Linked DNA regions of Homo sapiens: all the other regions are linked to region 1. The links are contacts of gene promoters, found by promoter capture Hi-C in blood cells and fetal thymus (Javierre and others, 2016). All regions are on one chromosome and are shown on one strand. The core of a region is centred on a gene start or on the middle of the fragment in contact, and the rest is flanking DNA. Distances in the headings are between cores, read along the strand shown.

Region 1 (3,762 bases), core at 526-3,025:
GGATTGTGTGTAACATGTTATCTCTTGCAAAAGGAAATTAAATTTTGGGACCCCAAACTGATTTAGCCAAAGGGAAAAGTCACGCTGGGACTGGTCACGCAAATCTGCCTCCCCCTTTTGGTTCCTAAATAAGATTGCTGCAAGATGAAAAGCTACATCTCTCCCCCGTATTTTGCCCACAAGGAAATTCTTAGTGTGCTGTTAAAACTTCATGGCAATGCAAATTGATAGCTTATCTTTACAGGTGGCCACCCCAGCCCGCCAGACACAAATGCCTATCTGATTGTTCCCCTACCCCATTTTGTCTGTTATCTTATGAAAAATGCAGACTCCCACATTCTTCCTCTGCCCATTTTATGTCATCTTATGTAAAAAATGCAGATTCACTGAGCCAGAGAAAGGCAAGAATTACTATTTTCTCCTACCGCCCCCTTACATGAAAACGGTGTGCTTCTCAATATCCCGCCCTTTCCCCTTTAAATTTGGAGCACTCAAAATCATCTTCGAAGAAAGGCATAGACCTGTTTCCTGGGCTCGTACTTAACTTCGGCAAATAAATCTCCTAAAGTGATGGACTCTCTTATAAATTAATCTGTAGCCAAGGCATGTCATCAATATGTCCTACTGTGCCTTCCTACCTCCCATTTATCAACTTACATGAGAAGCACACATCTTACTTGTCATAAATTATTACCTTAGTGAAAACCTGAGGGTGTCAAGAAGTCGAAAAATTTGAGACATTGACGTTGGGGAAGACACCTTTAATTAGAGCACCATAAAATCATGATAGAATGATACATTTTTCCTTGCCTTATATTTTTGGCATGCAAAACAGAAGGAGCTCAAACAATTGAGTGACACATTAGTAAAATTCCTTTCATTCATTTCTACTTACAAGGCACACACCATTGACCTCACCCCGTCCCCCCCTTTAAAACAATATTTGACCCGCGCCCCCCCCCCTTTAAAGCAATCTTTGAAAAGTTAGGAATGAAAGCCGGTTCAGGACAGTACACAGTACACAAATACTGGCTTCCCCTACCTCCACCACAAGCAAGTAAACATCCTAGCACAGTGTAAAAAGGAAGAGGCTGAGGACGAACCACGCGGACATTTGCAGGCACACCCCTTCCCTGCGACCAACAAAAATGCAGTAGCGCAATTACACTTGAAGGAATTGCAGCACTCACAAAAGCACACATTCTGTTCAATGGTTGAGTCCACATAAAGTGACAGTCCGTTTCTAAAAGCATGGCTGTATTTAAAGGACACATGGTCTGTTCAGGTCCGCTTCAGCGAAACCCCAAGCACTTCCGAGAGATCCACTCCCTCTCTCCGAGCAGGTGCCACTAGCTGCTCCGCCGGCGAGCGTAGGAAGCAGCGCGACCAACCAAATCGGTTGCCCACAACAGCCAGGGACGTCAAAAAGGCCAAACTGCGTGGGAAGCGAGCGTGCGCCTCCATCACCACGACAGCACCCGTCTCGAGGCTCCACCTGCCGCTAGTAGGTGGCTCTCAGCTCTGCTCTGCTAAGGGCGAGCTTGAGAACCCGGCCTACAGTTGTGCACCTCCCCCCGCCCCCGCCCCCGCCCCCGCCCCCGCCCACCGCACTTGTAGCCCCGCCCCGCCCAGGGAGCTTCCGTCACAACACTTCCGGCTCCAGCCTCCCAACCGGCCTCCGTCGTTTTTCACTTCCCTCTCCTCAGCTCTCTTCCCTTGCCCCTACCGTCTCCTTTAACACAGTCACGTGAGGGACGCGCGCGGGGGCAGCTGGGAGTAGTACTGCCGGTTGGTCAGGGTTCGGCCTCAACATGGCGGTTCCGGCCGGGCAGTGACCAAGGTTTTGCCGTCCGAAGGACTAAGTGGTGACTGTCGGCGTCTCCACCTATCGGGGTGGAATGCGAGCACGCGGGGACGAGCGCTGAGAAGCGGCGGTGACGGGAAGGGGGGGGTCAGTGGATTGTGCCCCAGAAACCGAAGCGGCGGCGTCTGTTCCTTCTTGTTTCTAGGCTCCAGTGCGTTCGGGGCCCCGCCCGGCCGGGCCAGGCCGGCGGGCGGCGGCGGTAGCTGCTGCAGCCGCAGGATAACCTCGCAGGGTGGGCCGGAGGGCGGGCGCCGCCGCTGCCTGTGCTGCGGCGATGGCCCAGTGTGTACAATCAGTGCAGGAGCTAATCCCGGACTCCTTCGTCCCCTGTGTCGCTGCGCTGTGCAGCGACGAAGCCGAGCGGCTCACTCGTCTCAATCACCTCAGCTTCGCGGAGCTGCTTAAGCCCTTCTCCCGCCTCACTTCCGAGGGTATGTGGTATCCTCCCTTTTCCAGTGGGCTCCCGCAAAGCCGTGGTCGGGAGAAGGAAGTTGCGGGCGGGCAGGGAAGAGAAGGGCAGTGTTTACGTCCTGGAGCCGGTACCGTGGCGTCTGGGGCTGTGGCCCCGCGGTGCTCCGGGGGCGGCTGGAGGAGGGACCGTGAGGTTGTCAAGACAGCGCAGTCCTAAGCTCCAGTTTCTCTGGGCACTTCCTTTCTTCCTCGGACAACCTAGGTCGTTAAGTAATTGGTGCAAAGATAAACGTGAGTCTTCGAGAACGGCATTGAGACTGTTCTCCACGGCCATAGCGAAGGAATTAGGCACTTGCAAAGCAGCTAAGGTAGGAAAATGCTGCCTCTTAGACCGACAGGGTCTGAGTAAGGAAGACCTGTCATCCTCCCTTGGATGTTAAACTGGACTTTGAAAGTAGTTGTGGATGTTATTACATTCTTGTAGCGTTGAGGGTCATCTCTGTCTGAACTACCGTGTAGCTGTTTTACTAATATATTCTTAGCTATACGGTATTTTGCTTAACCTCTCAAGAAAATTAAAAGTATTATAAGAAGAATAAAACTTGAAGCAGCTTTTTGCCCTAAGGAAGAGGAAGCAAGCCCAAGTTGTGGTTAATTTAACCTGGATATTTGGAGTTATCTATAGTTATAGGGATGGAAATGTCTTCTCTTGTTAATGAATGTCTTGTTAAGAAGCTACCCGTTTTCTCCAGTTTTGGATTTTTTTATTAGGAGAAAATAATGTGGTAAAGCTTCAAGCATGTTTTAGCCAATATCTTGCAAACAACAAAGTCCAAGTAAAGTTTTTTTTGTTAAGGTCGGTAAGAACTGAAGGGTTTCATAATAAGCCTGTGTCAGGCAAACGACTGTGATGTTTGTTAGCTTAATATGACTTATCCACAAAAAAAATCAGTGCTGTACCATTTTTGCGCTACCATGTTTTTTGGGAGAATAGTTCCATTATAAATTAGCTTTTGTTTTTAGCGGAGAGAGGGAGCTGTCCAAAAAAACAAAGTTTGGAAACTTTTGGATTTTCTTTAGCCTGTATCGTAGCCATCAGTCTCAGTTCCTTCAGTGTTGGACTTAAGAGCAACAAAATGCCCTACGTTTTTTATTTTTTTGTTATTTATTTATTTATTTATTTTGAGATGGAGTTTCGCTCTTGTTGCCCAGACTGGAGTGCAGTGGCGCGATCTCAGCCCACCGCCACCTCCGCCTCCCAGGTTCAAGCGATTCTCCTGCCTCAGCCTTCTGAGTAACTGAGATTACAGGCATGCGCCACCATACTCGGATAATTTTTGTATTTTTAGTAGAGACAGGGTTTCTCCATGTTGGTCAGGTTGGTCTCGAACTCCCGACCTCAGGTGATCTGCCCGCCTCGGCCTCGCAAAGTGCGGGGATTATGGGCGTGAGCCACCGCGCCCGGCCTTGAATTCCTAAAAAAACAC
Region 2 (3,805 bases), core at 468-2,967, 600 kb before region 1:
AATTAGCCAGGCGTGGTGGCAGGCACCTGTAGTCCCAGCTACTCAGGAGGCTGAGGCAGGAGAATGGCCTGAACCCAGGAGGCGGAGCTTGCAGTGAGCCGAGATTGTGCCACTGCACTCCAGCTTGGGCGACAGAGCGAGACTCCATCTCAAAAAAAAAAAAAAAACAGAGCAGTAGGTATCAGTCCCTCACCCGTTCACCACCCCAATCATGTTAAAAGCAGGCCTTTAAGACCCAGATAGCTGAAATGTTACTTCTGTGACCATCTTTGAACTGACACCTGTGCTGACCTCAGCTGGGCCCCTCCAAAGAAGCAATGCTGTAGTTCCAAAGCCATCCAGAAGTCAAGATGGTTCAGCCTCCCCCAGCTGCCCTCAAGCTTCTAATTTATGTACTTGCAAGCCACATGGCAAGCCAGGCAGAAGGCCATCAGACTCTTTGTCTCCACCTCTCTCCTCTGTTCGTTCTTACCTCTCCTTCCCTCCTGCCTTTCTCCAAAACGTCTTTTCATTTGGTGTGCAACAGAGAAGAGGGAGAAATGTAGAGCTATATCACATAATAGGAAATTGTATCTTGAGAGTATTTTCATCAGACTCCGTAATTGTCATCTTTTGAAAAGAACATGTGTAGGGAAATAGACATTCTCATCCATTGTTGGTGAGATGAAAGAACCTTTCAAGACAGTGATCTGCCATCTTCCAACAAAACAAAAGTATCCAAGCCATTTTGACCAAGCCATTCTACTTTTGGAGCGTTTCTTTAAGAAATCAAGAATACATCCATGAGGATATTAATTGCAGCACTATTTAATATAACAAAGAAATAGATAACTCAATGTCCATCAATTAGAGATGGTTAAATTAGGGCTCCTTTCTACAATGAAGTATTATATATTTGTCAAAAGACCAGATGGAGAACTGTATTAACTCAGTGGAAAGAAGGCTATGACACAGAAAGTAAAAACATTATTCTAGATACACTGTAGAACAGTGTTCTAGAATATCTAGAAGATACAGTGTTCTGCAGTGTATCTACTGTATCTAGAATAATCTCACATTATTTAAAAACAGAGTGCTTACGTATGTGTTTGATATGCATTATTAAAAGTCTGGAAGGCTATGCAGAGTAAATTTTACCCCTAAGGAGTAAAATTTAGGAGAAAGGAGCTTTTATTCCCTATATGAGAGAGCAGCACTTTGGGAAGCGAAGGCAGGTGATCAGTTCAGTCCAAGAGTTTGACACCGGCCTGGGCAACATGGGGAAACCCTGTATCTACAAAAAATATGAAAACTTTGCCAGGCTTGGTGATGCATGCCTGTAGTCCCAGCTACTAGGGAGGCTAAGGTAGGAGAATCACTCAAGCCTGGGGAGGTTAAGGCTGCAGTGAGTTGTGATCACATTCACTGCACTGCAGCCTGAGCAATAGAGCAAGACCTTGTCTCAGAGAAATAATAATAATTTCATTTAATTTGACTGTTGCTTATAGTGAGCATGAATTACTTATTAAGGAGAAATTAACAAACCAACATTTAAAAAAAATTTATCTGCTCTAGAACAGGATAGTAATAGTAGACTCGTCGGTCTACTTAACGTAATGTTGATGCTTATTTTATGACAGTTCAGTATTTAATTGAAAACAGCTCCTTTTTTTCAGAGCCTCTCTTTTTCCCTATACTTGGCAGTTCATATAAAATACGTATCTGGAGATTGTAGAGATGGAAAGGTAGAGAAGAAGGCACAGCAAAAGGAAAGGGATTCACAAAGAAAATAAGGACTTATCCAAATTTTTAAAAAGCCATCAAAATTATGTTTGGGGGAAAATTTAAAATAAGGTGAAATATAGATAATGAAAAATGCCAAATTCAAAGATGCATAATTAGTATGACTATTCTGAGAAATAAATGGCCTCTTCCAGCCTCCAAAAAGGATACTGGAGAAAAGTAAACCAAAATGTTAACAATGACAGACTCTGGATGGTATGACTTTAAGAAACGTTTCATTCCTCACATTCTAAACCTTTTTTAATGAATTGATTAGTTGTATCATGTAAACAGTCACACTTTTATTGAAGGCACGCCTATCATCACCCAACATTTTACCCTCCCAAAATACCAACACAAGTACAGGTTGTAACACAAGGCAGAGCTGTGTCTAGTTTTAGTAGAGATGGGGTTTCACCACATTGTTCAGGCTGGTCTCGAACTCCTGACCTCAGGTGATCCACCCACCTCAGCCTCCCAAAGTGCTGGGATTACAGGCATGAGCCACCGTGCCCGGCCCCTAAACTCACTTTTGAAGCCTGGGTATCTTGAGTCTGAGAAGCCCATTAAGTTTTGAGCCTTCCCTTCTCTCTGCATTAGAGCAACAACTTAAAGATTCCTTTATTTTCACAAGGAATACAGTCTAGGGAAGTAAATTTCAATAGGCTGTTTGATCTGTGACTGGGAGACAGAATATAATATTCATTGAAAGTATTCAGTACCTCAGGGTAAGAATCCATAACATAATGTAGATTGTCTTTATTGCTTAAATTTTATTCATAAAGTTGAAGTGAGAAACTGTAGGAGTTCAACAAAAAAATCAATCGCGGCCCCTCAAATCCCTTGCTTTGGATTTACTGAATTTTTTTTTTTTTGGCCAGAAGGGACTCACACCCAGTATTTTCTGGTGAGAATTTATGTTGGCCTGCTGTTCTTGGTTTGGTTTGTTTGCTAACAGTTGCCAGCTGTGCAAGCTCCCTCTATAATTTCTTGTAACCTTTTCTTTTTTTTAAAGAATAGAGCCTCAAATATATGGTTTCATGATAAGGTCTCAAGTTCTCAAGTTCTATGTAAAGTGGAAAATGTTCAGTACCAATGCACATACCAAGGAAGGGTGGGACTGCTTTACTCCCTTTAACCACTTTTAAGTTAGAAAGATGTCCTTCTGTCCCTGTAAGCCAGGTTTCTCTGAAACTGTCACAGACTCAAGAGAAGAGATGCTAGTCATTTTTTAACTTTGAAATCTATGAGTAAAAATAGCCCCGTCCCTAGATTCTTCTTCTTGAAAGCTTATCAAAAAGGGACTTCTGATCCCTAATCTTATCCTTTAATTCTCGATCACTGCATTTGATAAATAATCTATCTTGACAGTAGATCTGAAGAACTACGGGTAAGTGTTCCTTTACCTAAGAAGTGCTAGTCCTTTTTAATCTAAGTTTCTCCTGTTATCAGAATTCAAAATGTTATTGTTGCTTACTTTGCTTTTATAAAATATTTGACTTCTAGTAGCCCAAGTAGAGAAGAACTTATACTGATATGAGCCATGAGTTTAATATAAATATATGGTTTTTCTTTTAAGTTTTGCAGTTATTCGATAATTTTATAAATGAGGAAACTGAAGCTCAAAGATGTATGTAACTTGTGCAAGGAGAGGCCGCACTGGCGTTAATTGTAGAGTCAATTTCAAGTCTGTTTCCATCAAAAGTTCATGTTTTTTAGTTGTACCATGTTGTTTCTAACAACATAATACAAGAAAACCAATATTAATTGGCCACTTATGATACAACAGATGTTTTCAAGATATTCTTTTCATCCATAACCAAAACCTATTCTACTAGTAGTTATCCCCATTTTTATGGAAAAAAACTGGGGCTTAGAGAGGTTAAAAATGTGCCTATGACATAGTTTGCAGGAGGCAAATCCAGGATTGAACCCCAAGTCTATTTGTCTCCAGTGCCTCTACTTTCTATGCTATCATATATAGCATTTTACACGAATTCACTCATAAGAACAACTTCGAGGTGGGTACTATTATCATTCCCAT
Region 3 (3,344 bases), core at 125-2,624, 520 kb before region 1:
TGCCACTCCTGAAGTGCCAGGTAGATAGATGTGTTCAATATTACATCCTTGATGGTGAAATTTGCCTTTGTATGATAAGATAAATACAAAATAATTGAGCCTTTATAAATGTTGCCCCACAAGTTTTTCTGGAGAACCCAGAGAAAGGTACTCTAGCAATTCTCCTTGGGAGATTTGATGAGATGTATCTCATCAGCTGAGGTCTAAGCCCAGTCAGCAGTGCAATTAAGATCAGATATTTAAACTGATTGATCATCAGTCTTATAAACTGTTGACTTTAGAACTGGGTTCAGCAAATGTGCTTAGGACCAAGGAGAGGATGGAGAAAATACTAATCCTCCACCCCCAACCATCCTCACTCAAAACTGGATGGGTGGGAAATTGTTCATTTTCTCTCTCCTCCTCATTTCATCTTGGATAGACCCTGAAGGCTTGTGTTAGAGTAGCATTCTTACAACCTTTTTGCTTCTATGCCTCCTAAAAGATTTGGTGAAACTCTGTCCCTAAGCACATTTTTCAGTTAAATGCTAAAACTTTTCATTCTAAGTTTAAATGCTTGCAGGGGATGTAATTTCTCAGCATATTGTAACTATTCATATTTTAAAGTATTACATCATTCTAAAAACTCTAGTAAAATATATATTTGATTTCTAATATCATTTGTTTAAAAATTCATGAGATTCAAGAATCAATCTTTTGAAAGTTAAACATTTTACACCTTTTCTTTATCTCTTTAAATTCTTACTCCATTTCTCTTCCGCTGTATAGAATTCTGTCTCAGTGTAATATATTTTTATGCTTGAAAGTATTCTATTGATCACTCTGCCATACTCTCTGTAACCAAAAAAAAAAGTATATAGATTGAAATCTAGTATTTCGTATTTATTTTGATCATAAGACTTTCAATATTTAATGATTTCTGGTTGTTTTTAAAACAAAGAATTGGAAATTACCTGACTTAACAGAAATAGTTGTTACCTAAATAGTGGAGACTTTAACCCTGCAACACGAATCAATATTTTTGTTCCTTTGTTTGTTTCTCTACCCAAGGTCTTTTCACCCTCAGGCAATGCATCTTAGAAAGATGTAGAGAAGGTAATACAAGTGCATTACTTTTGTAAAGTGAGTGAAGAACCATTGTGAAGGGGAGATGGTGAACGACAGGTTCCTTCCATCACAGTGAAGGTCATCACAGGATGGATGTCCAACGCAAGCGTGGACCCAAGCCCATTAATTTTTAAACAAGAGTACGTTTGGAAATTTCAAATGTAGAAACTGATTCCTTTACAGTTGTGATGATGAGACCCTTGGGAAGTGTTAGCTTTGCCCCAAACATGTACCCCAGTTTAAAGAATGCTGGTCTAGCACAATAAAAGATGTGTTAATGGCCCTGTTTGCTGAAAGGAAAAGGAAGACCAAGGCTGCATGGAAAGGCAGGGAGAGGGAAGAAAAAGAGTAGGAGACTGCTAAGTAGGTAGAACAGGAGCAGTGACCGTCTCTCCTTCCTGGCTGTGCATAGGAATCAGATCAGATTCTAAGTCCCGGATGTGTTGGGACTGTGGGAAATTTGGTCCTTACTTTGTGCTCAGAGGCTTCTGCAGCTTTATCATTTACTGGCCTCTAGGAGCAAAAACATGGACACTTAGGCCCCAGGGAGGCTCCAAGTGGCTGTTTGTAAACATCAGAGGTCTTTCTCGGATCCATGTTTTATCATTGAAATTGAAGTAAGTTCTCAAAATCTACTTTGTAATTGATGTCTTTTTCTTTTTCTTTTCTTTTCTTTTTCCCAAAGTAACTTAGTTTTGCTCTTGGAAGATGTTCGGTGTTCATCTTGTGGCTTCATTTCTCCTGGCATTCTGTATTTTAAGAGAGTACACATGGCCAGGGTGGGGGGAATGATAATTTAAAGAATACTGGATTTGGAGCCAAGAGACCTTCGTTCTGTTAGAGGTACTGCCATTTCATAGTCATGTGATCTTGGTCAGGTCTTGTAATCCCTTTGATTTGTAGTTTTCCCGTGTAGGAAAACTAGACGTTATACTTGCCCCTATTCTTCATTCAGTAAATTGTTTATTCAGTCAACTAACACTTAACTAAGCCCCTGCTATGTGACAAGCCCTGTTACAGGTGTTGGGACTATAGCACTGAACAAATCAGACAAAACTGTATGTCTTTGTGGTGCTTACATTCTACTTATTATAGGAATTAAATGCAATAATATATGTCAAATACATGTGTGAGATGGCTGTAGTAGATACGGATCAGTTGAGGGAGGCTTCAGAGTATAGCATATCATTTAGGTAGCAGCAGGTTTTATTGTCTTTGTACAGAAGAAGAAGCTGAGAGAAATGCTCTGGGTGACTTGAGTGTGTTTCGTTTTGAGTATTCCAGGTTATTGATCTGGTAATCCGCAGGTTATAGAAAGGTGGCGAAAGGTCTTTATCAGACAGAAAGTGTTATAAACTGACTAATCTAACCAAGATTGGGCTTCGGAGGGACTGGAGGAGTTTGGAAAGGAACTTTACTTTTTTAAAAAAAGAGATGGGTTCTCGTTTTGTTGCTGAGGTTGCCCTCAGACTCCTGGGCTCAGATGATCCTCTGGCCTCAGCCTCTCAGGTACCTGAGACTATGTAGGCCTGAGCCACCACATCTGGCCAGGAACTTTTAATTTAATCCAGAATCACAGGTGAGTTTTACCAAATGGTACCGAAACAGTGAGCTTAGACACTTACATCTTTTTTTTTTCTTTTTGTGTCGCCCAGGCTGGAGTGCAGTGGCTCAATCTTGGCTAACTGTAACTCCTGTCTCCTGGGTTCAAGCAATTCTCCTGCTTCAGCCTCCCAAGTAGCTGGGCTTACAGGCATGCACTACCACGCCCAACTAATTTTTGTATTTTTAGTAGAGATGGGGTTTCACCATATTGGCCAGGTTGGTCTTGAACTCCTGACCTCAAATGATCATCTGCCTGCCTTGGCCTCTCAAAGTGCTGGGATTACAGGCATGAGCCACCACGCCCAGCCTTTTTTTTTTTTTTTTTTAACCACGTACTCATCATTATTTTCACTGATGGATGATCATTTTTTTGTACCTATAGTTGTATAATGGTTAGCAGGAAAGAAGTGCCTAGTATAATGTTATACACAAAGTGAGTGATTTAGGCCGGGCGCAGTGGCTCACGCCTGTAATCCCAGCACTTTGGGAGGCTGAGGTGGGCGGATCACGAGGTCAGGAGATCAAGATCATCCAGGCTAACACGGTGAAACCCTGTCTCTACTAAAACTACAAAAAATTAGCTGGGTGTGGTGGCATGTGCCTGTAGTCCCAGCTACTCGGGAGGCTGAGGC
Region 4 (3,718 bases), core at 383-2,882, 920 kb before region 1:
TTTATTTGAGAAGCTGGGAATTATGCCTAGCCAAGAATAAACAGAACTCAAAGCTTCGAACTCAGCTCAAAACATAGAACCCTTACTTAGGCAATGGCTAAATAGTCTGCTCTTTCTGAGTTTTGCCGTGTTTAATTGGAAAAAGACTCAGAGGAGTATAAGACAAGGAAAAACCAACAATGATTTGAAAATGCTTTGCTTCAGTCCTGGTAGATGCTGTCATTTGGTCTATATTAATTAGCATGGAAAAATATATCATCTTTTGGATCCAGCCTGTTTGTGAAAGCTATAAACATAAGACTATTTTGAAGTGAGAGACAGTGATAAGCAGATTTCATTTTGTTGTTGTTTCCTGAGCAGCGGTTCTTAATCAGATGAATGAACTTGTTTGTACTAGTTAACTTTGCTGGAGTTTAGGAGTTGTATTTAAAACAGATTTTATCCTACAGTGATATTAATTTGATAGGATCCCTGATCTGTAAACCATTGGTTATCTTGGTCTCTCCTGATAAGGAAAAAAAGTGCCGAGGATTTCCAGTTGGTGAGCACATTTGGGCAGAATCTTTCACACGTCACAAATTGCAGATGGGAGGCAGTGATCTCGAACATGCAGTCACATTGCGTGACCATCTGACACCTTCCATTTAGAAAAATAATACTTTCCTCCCAGCATACGCTCCCTGCTGCAACCAGCACCAAAAATTATGCCTGGGAGAGCCGTTCCTCCTAGACCAGGGTCTTAAATATTTCTTAGGCGCCTTTTAAAAGATTCATACTGCAGCAGCACCTAGCTCACACCCTAGTCACCTATAGAAAAATCCCAAAAAGGCAGCTTCTCAATGATGCTGCTGATAACAAAAACATCCACAAAGAACAAAAGGGGTGGGGGTGGGGGAACTGGAAGGAGACAGGAAAATTACACTAGACGCAGTTGTAAGGTGATTTATTCTTGTCTTCTGTGTGATTCGAGCATATTCACGTTAAAGTCAACGGACTTCTTTGTCGGCTCATTTCTAAGCTGCTTCACAGTGGCATAGAATTTCGCAGTCCCCAGGAGGGGGACCGGAGTCCCTGGGATTGTATATAACTTGCTCATCCACCAGTGTTCTGCACTAACCCATGCTCATTTAAGACAAGGAAGAGCATCTCTGCCTCGCCTCCTCTCCTGTACATTTAATGACCCCTGGCAACAGCAACGGCAGTGATTTCCAGCAGACATGTTCAAGCGGAGAGATTTTTAACCAGAAATTCAGAATTCTGATAGCATGTCCAAATGGGCAAAGCTTATTTGCTGTTTAACAAAAGCCATGGCAAATTCGTATCCAATCTCTATACATACGTACACACACATACAAACACACACACACATAAGGTTGCATGACACTGTGTGCACATGCACAAACACACGTACACAAAATGTGACTGACTTTCCCTGTTTCTTTGTCCCAGAGTGAAACTAAACACACTTCTGTGACCTGCTAGGTTGTCAATATCCACCTTAAAAGAATGAAGAGGGCCTGAATAGCTGCGGTCCTAGGAGAACAGACTCAAAACTGTTTCCTTAGAATCCTTTGCGGATATGGGGTAGGGGGAAGGGGTGTTTTCTCCATGATCATAGAACAGAGGTGGTTAAAACACTCAACCACCTGCTTTTAAAAAATATATTACCTTCTTCTCATTTTCACACTGCCCTAGGTTTCGGGGGACTTCCCAATAGCAGCACGTGAATAATTTTAGGGTTGTATATATCAGGATCTCATCGCAATGTTAAAAAAAGAAAGAACCTTTTTTAAAAATAAAAAACAATGTGGCATTTACAGGATTGACACCCTATTCTCTTTTCTTATAGAAAAGAAGTGCAGACGGCTTGATAATTCCTCTAATAATAACACAATCCTTTCCTTTCATAAGGAAGGGAAACTGCTTGAAAAGCTGCCACATCAGAAGGGTAGGCAAGAGGGTTTGTTCTCAAGAAAGCTTGAGTGTCAACTCCAGTAGGAATTCACTTATTTTCCTGAAGCTCTTTAAAAACATCAGAGCAATAGTCATTTGTAAAATCAACTCCACTTCTTTACCTATGGGACAAGAACAGCAAGGGGAGGACTTTAAAAAGAAAAAAAAATGAACAAGAACATGCTGCTTTGACCAGGGTTGCTCCAAAAGCATTCATCGCTCTCTAGGTATTTGTGCAAATATTTTAGTCTGTTGTTGTTTTCTCCAGATCTTTGACTGATAAGACCTATAAGGATAATACCTTTTGTCTTATGAGCTGTCTCTTTCTGTCTCTGTATCTACATGTACATGAATATTAAAATATACATATATATGTTTGTGGACATGCAAGAAATTTAATCAGGCTATCATGTGAAATATCAAATTATAAAGCTTCCTCCTAGTACAAGCTGTCCATAGGATCCACACATGCCATGCTTTGGTAATAGGGTTGAATAGTGCTTACCTGCCCAATGGTTTCTTTAGGTATCACTTATAGGTGTAACCCCAATCCACTTATCTCCCAGATACCTATTCATCTTTATACCATAACTTTAACCTCATCACTAACTCAATGACAAGGTACATTGTATTACCCAGATAAACTAAGCAAATGAAATGCCTGATTCCTAAAAGCTCCAGATTATTAAGGAAGTAACAGCTTGGGCCTGAACTATTGTCTGTGTTGTCCAGATAACAGCTAATTTGATATTGAGCTTGGGAGATCTATTATAACTGGGAAATAATCATGAAAACTTATGATTATTGAGCAGTTTTCATAGGCCACACATGGTTTTAAATAATTTTAATGTGTTTAAGGAAGGCACTATTATCTACCTTAATTTACACATAGAAATGAAGTAATTACTCAAGATAGCATGGCTAATGAGAAGTAGGGTCACTATCTGAACACTGGCAGACCAACTCTACTCCCCATACTCTCCATCTCTACGTAATGTAAGCTGCTTCCTTGTGACTTTTGCTTTAGGGATCCTCAGCTTTCAGTACCTGGAAGGGCTGCCTTTCCAGGTACAATTCTAATCAGAAGTAAACGACATGGGACAGCAGATATTTCTTACACTAGTTGGAGGGAGGTGGCAGTATATTTGGGCTAGATTAAAAACTATTACCTTAATGAGAAAAGCATGTTGTGCTGAGAATGATAGAGCAGAAGAATGGAAGAAATCTTGGTTCTAATGGCATCACTCACCCAAATCTGAAGGCTCTCACTCTCTGAGTATCTAGATATGAGACAAAATAAGTGTCCTTATTATCACTCCGATTTTTTTGTTGTGTTGTACTATTGAACTATTAAATGTGAAGTTGTACAGCCCATTGAATACTAGAGAAAATACATTAGCATCATCAATGTAATATTTGTTAATTCCCCCATAAAGAGGTGTCAATATTTTTGCCTAGTCGTGTTAAGTGGTAAAAGAAGTTATATATCAGAGATTTTAACCACAAGAAAAAATAAAATATGAAATAAATGTTAATGGGTACATTTATAGTTAGAAAACTTAATGCTATCCTTAGATTCACTATGTTATGTGTATCCTAAACTATAAAATTTGGTTTGTGTGACTCAAAATTCATCAAAATATTCCAGCAATAAATCTTGAGAAGAGGAGTAGAAAAAAGTAACATTTATACAGGAATTACTATTGGATGCATTTGCTAAATCAGAGATGAAATATCTTAACCAATCTGTAATGTCTTTCTCAAA
Region 5 (3,728 bases), core at 289-2,788, 820 kb before region 1:
GAGTATATATTGGAGATGTGGCATTTACAAAAGACAAACTCTTATCTACACCTTCCACTTCTGTTTTATCACACCACAAAAGTCATTAAAAGTTCCTGCCATCTAACTCTTCTTCAGGCCACTCAACCAATGAAGAACGAGGGGAAGACATTAGAAAGCCAGAATTCTATCCTTCTGGTCTACAGCACTTAATTATTAGTTCTGAATTAAGGGGCTAAATAATAAGTTGCTGAGATTTGGCACTATAATATTGACTTACTAAAAATAGAATGAGCCAATGCACTTTAAATAAAGAAAAGAAAGAAAAATAAGAAATTTCTGTTTAACTATGAAAAAAAAAAAAAAACCTTGAAGCTTGAATTTGAACCAAAAGTTGGTTTCCCTGGATTTCTGTGCACTGAAGTACTAAAGGGGTGTCAGATTTGTTTTTGTGACAGTAAAACACTATTCATGTTGGGGATACTTTCAGGTGATTAAATAACCAGGTAGAAGTTGGAATTATAAAAATACCTGTATATTTTAATAACAAAATAAGACCTCTCTAACTGAAAATTTATTCTGTTTATATTTTGTTTCAAGAAAATCAATTTAACAATTGTTAGATCATAAATGTTTGTCTTCTCTCATTCACTTAGAATTCAGAAAACATGTTCATTTTCCATGTCCTTTCCATTGATTTCCAAGATAATTCACAATACAGGCATTACTAATGATGATTTCTTTAAATTAAAACAAAAAAACACTATTTTGATATGGGTAGGAGGATCACTTAACCAGAGAAAGGCTATCTGTTGTAGTACAGATGATACAATGAGTGTGTTCATTTTACTGTAAATAGCAGAGAGGTTTATCTCTTCACAAATAATATTAATGCAAATAGGATTAGAACTATTTGCAACACTAGAAGTAAAGCAGAAAGGTATTATGGAATGCCTACCGTAAAAAGAGAAAATAAATTATAGGGTAATGAGAAAAAGAAGAAAAAACAAGAAGTAAGAAAAATGCAAGGAAATAAGGGGTATCAAACAAGTTATTAAGAATGTGAACTATCTGAAAAAGGAAGAAAAAGAAGATGGGCAAGAAATTTCTAAAGACTGGAAATTAGGTGTTCAACATTTACAAATCAAGATAAGAACAAATCAAGAAACACTTAAATCATGGCATACCCAACCTTATATAATTTAGAGTTATAGACAGAATTTCATTAAAAAGAAAAAAAAAGTCAGTCCTCAAAAGAAAGAAAATATTTTCACAAGAAAAAAATGTCAATCATGGTACCTTACCGCCTATAATACCATTCGGTTCAATAACTATGTATATGTAATCTGAGTTAATAAGATTTTTTGTTGTTTTTTTTTTAAATCCATTGTTGTGCTAGGTAATGCAGTAGTTTCAGAAGTCTCGGAGTTCAAAGGGGACAACCCATTCTGTGAATATAAGGAGATAAACATATAACTGCATTCATTGCAAAATCATCTTAATTCCCATGTAATTTGACCTGGCAAAAGACCTGAGAAGCAAGGAGAACTTCAGGACCTCTGACAGCTTTCTAAATGCAGGCCCATGACTGTGTCACACTGATAGTGGAAACTTGGAGTGATGCATTGCAATTTACTACTAATCAGAAGTTGTGCTATGGAATAACCCCCACATTTGTATTGAACGTATATGGTACATCAAGCTCTGAGCTAAGTTCTGAGATACAGAGTTGAACAAGACAGCCACATTTCTGACTGCATGCAATTTACAGTAAAAAGAGAAAGAGTAAATAGTAACACAAAATAATCACACTGGCAATACATAACCTACAAGAGAAAAGTGGCATGGGCTGGGACACCCTATAACAGACAGCTGTAACCTTATCCGAGTGACTGGAGAAGACTTTCTCTGCAACAAAGGTATAAGATGAGCCTTGAAAGATGAGCCATTCTAAGTAATAGGCCTGGGGAGAAGGCAAAATATGCAATTGGAGAGGCAAAGCTGAGAGAAGACCACCTGCAAAACTCCTGGGCAGAAAAGAGCTTGGCACCTTCCAGGAACTTAAAAAAAAAAAAAAAAAAAGGATGTGTGGCTACATTTGTGGCAAGAGGGGTTGTCCAAATCATACAGGAAGTTGTAGGCCCTGCTAAGGATTATTTACTGCATAGATACATTTTAAAATGGAAAAATCAGCATGTTTTTCAGTTGAACTGAAAAAAGAAGTAATACTATTGTGGAAACACTGCTGCCTTTGAAATCATAAACCTAAATGAGTGGCCTGGCTCCACGTTAGCCGAGTCCTGCAGCAGTAAAATGGGTTAATAATTATAGTTCTAAATACTTAGCAGCATTTGTAGAAAGATCAGCTGAGATTGTAGAAAAACTAAACATAAAATGCTGTTTTAAGTTTGTATATTATTAATTTTAAAAGACATATTTAGCAAAATTTACCTGAATGCACTTTTGCCTATCAAAAAATCACTAGGACATATTCATGATATCACTGATAGCACAGAAATAGTCAGAGACTGTTAACACCAGAGGAATGAAGTTGGAGGGAACCAAAGGTGAAACCAAGGGCATCAGAAGGAAGTGGGAACATTAGAATTTTCGACAGCTCTCAGCAATTTATATTTCATTCTTCAAAAGGAAAATGATGGCCGGTTGAGTTATAAATGTCTTTCATTTTTTCCTTTCATAGAAGAGAGTTCCTCTTCTTTTTAATCTCATAAACTTAAGCTTAGAGGCTTTCTTTTCTGCTGCTCCCAAAGCCTTTCACATGCATATGTCTGGCTTCTTTGCTCCCAGAGCGCCTGTGAGGGGTTGGTAAATTGCACCTGCGCGGGGACTCTGAACTTCCTCAGAGCTCAGCTGGGCCACCGTATGGAGACTGGCTCACTGGAGGCTGCAGAGAAGTGAACTGAAGAATTACAGTCGGTTTCACTTCCCTGCCTTATGTGCCTTCAGGTGCCTCTGAAGACAGGCGAGGCCAGTGAAATGGAGAGGAGGAAGAAGAGAGAAAGCAGCAATATCTGAGAAAAGTCCTTGAAAATGTAGAGGCATTGTTGAAAAATATGGAAAGATGGATGTGCATGTTTGTGTGTGTGTGTATATGTGTGTGTGTGTGTGTGTGTGTATGTCTGTGTGTACACAGTCCAATCACATATTGTTGGGTGCTACCTTCAAATTTTCTATAGAGTGATTTCTGAGATGTGTTTTTTTATCAGATAAAGTCTATTTTGAATGTCAGGGTCAGGGTGGGATGGTCCACAATTCACAATCTGGTGCTGAGTGAGGAATTATTAGGCTGGAGGGTCAATTTGTCACCAGAAAGAAAATAGTCATATTTGTAAATACTTCTTAGAACAAAAACAACAGAGGGCTGTTTGGCTCTGATTTTGAGCACCCCTCAAAACCAACCACATCAGAGCATCCTGTGCAAAGCGATGGGATTAAAAAAGGGAATGTAAACCTGTGAGTCAGAGAGGGAAACTTTGAAGAAAACACTTTAATGCTATCAGGTGTACACTAGGCCCTCACCACTTTCTATTTCATATGCATTAACAGGAGTTCACTGATACAGTGAGAGATCCCAGTCAGTATGGGTGTATTACAGAGGCAGAAGTGTGTGCCCAGTAGCACAGATGAATTTGGTGGATTGGTTACTATAGCAACTGTACCACCATTGTCAGTGGCAATTCCTGTAATCTCCCTCTCCTAAGGTTTCATAAGCATTCACTCCAAAATGA
Region 6 (3,529 bases), core at 532-3,031, 540 kb before region 1:
TTCTTGTAGTACACCTGCAGAATCATTTCTATCCTAATTTCTGCAGGCACACAAGGAAACCAAATTAAGTCTTGGATTTATTGCTTGTGTTGGGCATCTTGATGTGCTACTCTGTAAACTTAAATTTCTGTTTGCTCAAAACTGTTATACAGAGGCATCTTGTATTTCTCACTAAGAAATTTTATAAAAAACAGACAAAGGAGATTAAGGCAATAGATAAATTGGAATGGCTTAAGTAGACCTGGCATTCTTCCACAATAAGTGCTCCTGTTTCTCAGACTAGATTGTATTTTTTGAAAATCCAGCTACACATTGTTTTAGGAGTCATTCCTAAAACATAATGGCACAGAAATATGTAAAAAAAAAAAAGGGAAATATATATTAGGCAAACATCACCCAAAAGAAGGCTGATGTAGCATATCAACATGCAAGGCAAATATAGATAAAGATGGGTAACAAAAGAATAGAAGGAACAAGACATCAAAAAGATATGACAATCATAAACTTTTATGAACCCAATGACAAACCAAAATGAAAAAAACAAGGCAGTTACAAGTTGAAACTGACAAATCCAAATCATAGTAGGCAATTTTAACAAATCTCTATCAGAAACAAACATGTCAAGCAAACACAATTTTACAAGTGAGAAGGATAGAGAACATTTCAACAGTAAAATTAATAAGCTTGTACAATGGGTGAGTATAAAAACCTGCAGTGAACAAAGAGAAAATATACACTTTAAAGTATACATAAAACATTTATGCAAATTGATCACAAATGAGTCACAAAAGAAGTCCAGTAAATTTTGAAGAATTATCTACTTAATACATTTCTTGACTACAAAGCAACAGTTAGAAATCAATACAGTTGTCCCTGGAACAACATGGATTTGAATTGTGTGGGTCCACTTATGCTGAGATTTTCTTCTACCTCTCCCACCCCCGAGACAACAAGACCAACCCCCTTTCTTCCTCCTCCTTCTCAGCCTACTCAATGTGAAGATGATGAGGACAAAGGCTTTTATGATGATCCACTTCCACTTAATGAATAGTAAATATACCTTCCTTATGATTTTCTTAATAACATTTTCTTTCCTCTAGCTTACATTATGGTAAGAATATAGTATATAATATACATAACAAAGAAAATATGTATTAATTGATCGTTTATGTTATTGGTAAGGATTCTGGTCAAGAGTAGGCTATTCGTAGTTAAGTTTTGGGGGAGTCAAAAATTACATATGAATTTTCAACTACACGGAGGGTCAGTCCCCCTAACCTCCACATTGTTCAAGGGTCAACTATAATTGGAAAAAAATCAAGATGTTTATGTTTTAATACATCCCTCATAACTCATCAAAGAGGGACTCATAATAGAATTTACAAATTATTTTGGTTACATCAAAATATTTTGATATATCAAAACATATAGGATGGAGCCAAAGTGGTTCTTAGAAGGAAATTTGGAGCCTATAGATACATTTATTTTTTAAAAAAAAGAATAAAAGGGGTTGAAAATAAACTAGTTAAAAATTCAGCTCAGAAGTTAAAAGACAATAGAGTAAACCTGAAGAGAGTGAAAGGTAAATAAATTATTGGAAATTAATAAAATAGAAAATAGAGGAAATGTACAACCAAACCAAAAATTTGTTCTCCCCAAACAACTAACATATTCATAACTCATAATTTTTAAGATGACTTTTACAGTAATCTTGTAGACACTTAAAGTTTCATAATGGAATGTCAACTCAATCTTTCTTCATATTGTATATATTGTAGCCCCTGTTGCTGGACCAACCAATAAAAGTTTCCATTTTATACCAAAGGGAAAATGTGAGATGTTTGTACTCGAGTAATTAAAATGGAATACGTGTTGGCTTAAATTAGCATCTACATATGTATGAAGCAATGTTCCCACTGGTGTACGTTACAGATGACTAAAATACATTTGGCTGGGGGTCTCAAACATCAATAATGGATTTCTCAGGGCATAAGAAAATTTTACATTCCTGTACCCACTTTCAAGAAAATAAAACTTACTGCCACAAGTTAGATTTTATCTTATGATTTCCCTCCCCCTTCCCTCCCTCCTCTCACAAGCCTAACTCCCTCATTTTGGATTGAAGTTTTCTGCATATCCTTTACTGTTCTGATAACCCCCAGCAACACAGTTCTTCCCCTTGTCTATAGCTCGGTTTTTGCCTCAGGCACCCCACAGCTCTCCACTTCTTTTGCACCACCTTGACTTTCCTTTTCCATTTTCCCCATTTTCAGGTTTTCTCTCTCTCAGCTCTTATCCTGTCTTTTAAACTTCTCTATTGCTTTAGTCAGAAAAGTATAATAGGACATTCTCATCTTTACTTCTCAGGGAGTCTGATGCGAATTCATCCCAGAAGATAGTAACCCTATTTCCCTTGTCATTGTTTCATTTTATACCTTGACCATATAATGTAAAGAAAGCAGAAAGTCCCACTTAGCCAACTGCACTCTTCTAAGTGTTTTTTTAATCCTGAGAAAAGGTGATATAAACTGCTTACTGAGGGGGCTCCCTGAAAAACCAAAGGCACTAAATCTCACATGTACGTCAATGAGACCCAAGAGTGCCTACTTCAAATAAAAGTAAATTAACTACGTCAATGCATATCTTGACATCAAAGAGATTTACTAATTAAAAAAAACCTTATTAACTCTAGATGGAATTATAGCTAATATGAAAAGGCCAAATGCTTTATTAAATTACTGCCATCTTTCCTCCAGATGTGGGATTTGCCTTTCGACATTGCACAAACCCAGTGACAACACTTTACAAAATTCTGAAAGCACCAAATGCACCAAATGGATTTCATCAGGATTTTTTCATTTTTACATGAAATAAGCTTTAAATAAGTACTCTTGTCATCTGCCTTCCACTTCCTGATTTGGTCTGACCTACTGATGTTTTCTGGGCAGAATAACAGGACATAAATAGGAAATCTTTGACTCCCTCAATATCTTGAGTAATTGTTATTTATAAGTACAAATAATATCAGAGGATTCTATATTAAAATAAAATTTTAGGAGCAACTTTCTAGATCTTCAAATAATTTTGAAATTAATACCTTCCCTCACTACTGGAAACGTAAAATATTGTAATATTGAACATGCATTCCTCTGGAGAGTTTCATTCCCTCCTTCCAGTAGAGTATCAGTGTATTAAAAGATCAACCCCAAATAAAATGAGAAGCAATTGAAAAATTCATTACCTTTCTTTATAGACAGGTATGAATCATATAATCTAGACTAAATGAAATTGACGAGACCTTGGAAAGACACATGGCACCAATATTTAAATTGTCTAGGAATAGTGATAATTTATACTTCTTGGAATAAAACTTGGTAATAATGTCTTTCTATGATCTACGCAGTGATTTACCACATCAGAGTATAATTTTTTCTTAAGTTCAATAGTAATCTTAAAATTCTATGCTACTACAAATACATTTTTGGGCTTAACATATTTGTGCATAAAACTTCTTTTCTATAGTTAGATT

The links. Contacts are between HindIII fragments. The CHiCAGO score rates a contact against its expected background, and 5 or more counts as called.
Region 2: a contact is called between a fragment that was not itself captured here and the fragment with the promoter of TRAPPC8 in region 1, in 1 of 17 cell types (total CD4 T cells). The highest score is 5.1, in total CD4 T cells.
Region 3: a fragment that was not itself captured here is called in contact with the fragment with the promoter of TRAPPC8 in region 1 in 4 of 17 cell types (non-activated CD4 T cells, total CD4 T cells, naive CD4 T cells and 1 more); the score reaches 6.9 in non-activated CD4 T cells.
Region 4: a fragment that was not itself captured here is called in contact with the fragment with the promoter of TRAPPC8 in region 1 in 1 of 17 cell types (total B cells); the score reaches 7.8 in total B cells.
Region 5: a fragment that was not itself captured here is called in contact with the fragment with the promoter of TRAPPC8 in region 1 in 2 of 17 cell types (total B cells and naive B cells); the score reaches 5.4 in total B cells.
Region 6: a contact is called between a fragment that was not itself captured here and the fragment with the promoter of TRAPPC8 in region 1, in 2 of 17 cell types (naive CD4 T cells and non-activated CD4 T cells). The highest score is 6.7, in naive CD4 T cells.

The regions. Positions count from the first base shown.
Region 1 is chr18:31,941,141-31,944,902 of GRCh38, reverse strand. It overlaps TRAPPC8 (trafficking protein particle complex subunit 8), which reads left to right and starts at 1,775. Exons shown (of 29, transcript NM_014939.5): 1 at 1,775-2,295. The coding sequence starts at 2,139. RefSeq lists enhancers at 1,791-2,000, 2,102-2,880 and a silencer at 2,051-2,170. The HindIII fragment of the contact is 12,839 bases long and covers 1-3,068 here.
Region 2 is chr18:32,543,336-32,547,140 of GRCh38, reverse strand. No RefSeq gene overlaps it. Among named protein-coding and RNA genes, the nearest start is that of GAREM1, 74 kb to the right of the region's middle. The HindIII fragment of the contact is 2,670 bases long and covers 383-3,052 here.
Region 3 is chr18:32,463,682-32,467,025 of GRCh38, reverse strand. The region is part of intron 1 of GAREM1 (GRB2 associated regulator of MAPK1 subtype 1); the gene reads left to right. Among named protein-coding and RNA genes, the nearest start is that of GAREM1, 5.5 kb to the left of the region's middle. The HindIII fragment of the contact is 6,104 bases long and covers 1-3,344 here.
Region 4 is chr18:32,865,502-32,869,219 of GRCh38, reverse strand. It overlaps LOC105372058 (a long non-coding RNA gene), which reads right to left. Exons shown (of 10, transcript XR_935361.2): 3 at 3,123-3,233. Among named protein-coding and RNA genes, the nearest start is that of KLHL14, 94 kb to the right of the region's middle. The HindIII fragment of the contact is 694 bases long and covers 1,286-1,979 here.
Region 5 is chr18:32,759,727-32,763,454 of GRCh38, reverse strand. The region is part of intron 2 of KLHL14 (kelch like family member 14); the gene reads left to right. Among named protein-coding and RNA genes, the nearest start is that of KLHL14, 11 kb to the left of the region's middle. The HindIII fragment of the contact is 2,364 bases long and covers 357-2,720 here.
Region 6 is chr18:32,482,356-32,485,884 of GRCh38, reverse strand. No RefSeq gene overlaps it. Among named protein-coding and RNA genes, the nearest start is that of GAREM1, 13 kb to the right of the region's middle. The HindIII fragment of the contact is 2,192 bases long and covers 686-2,877 here.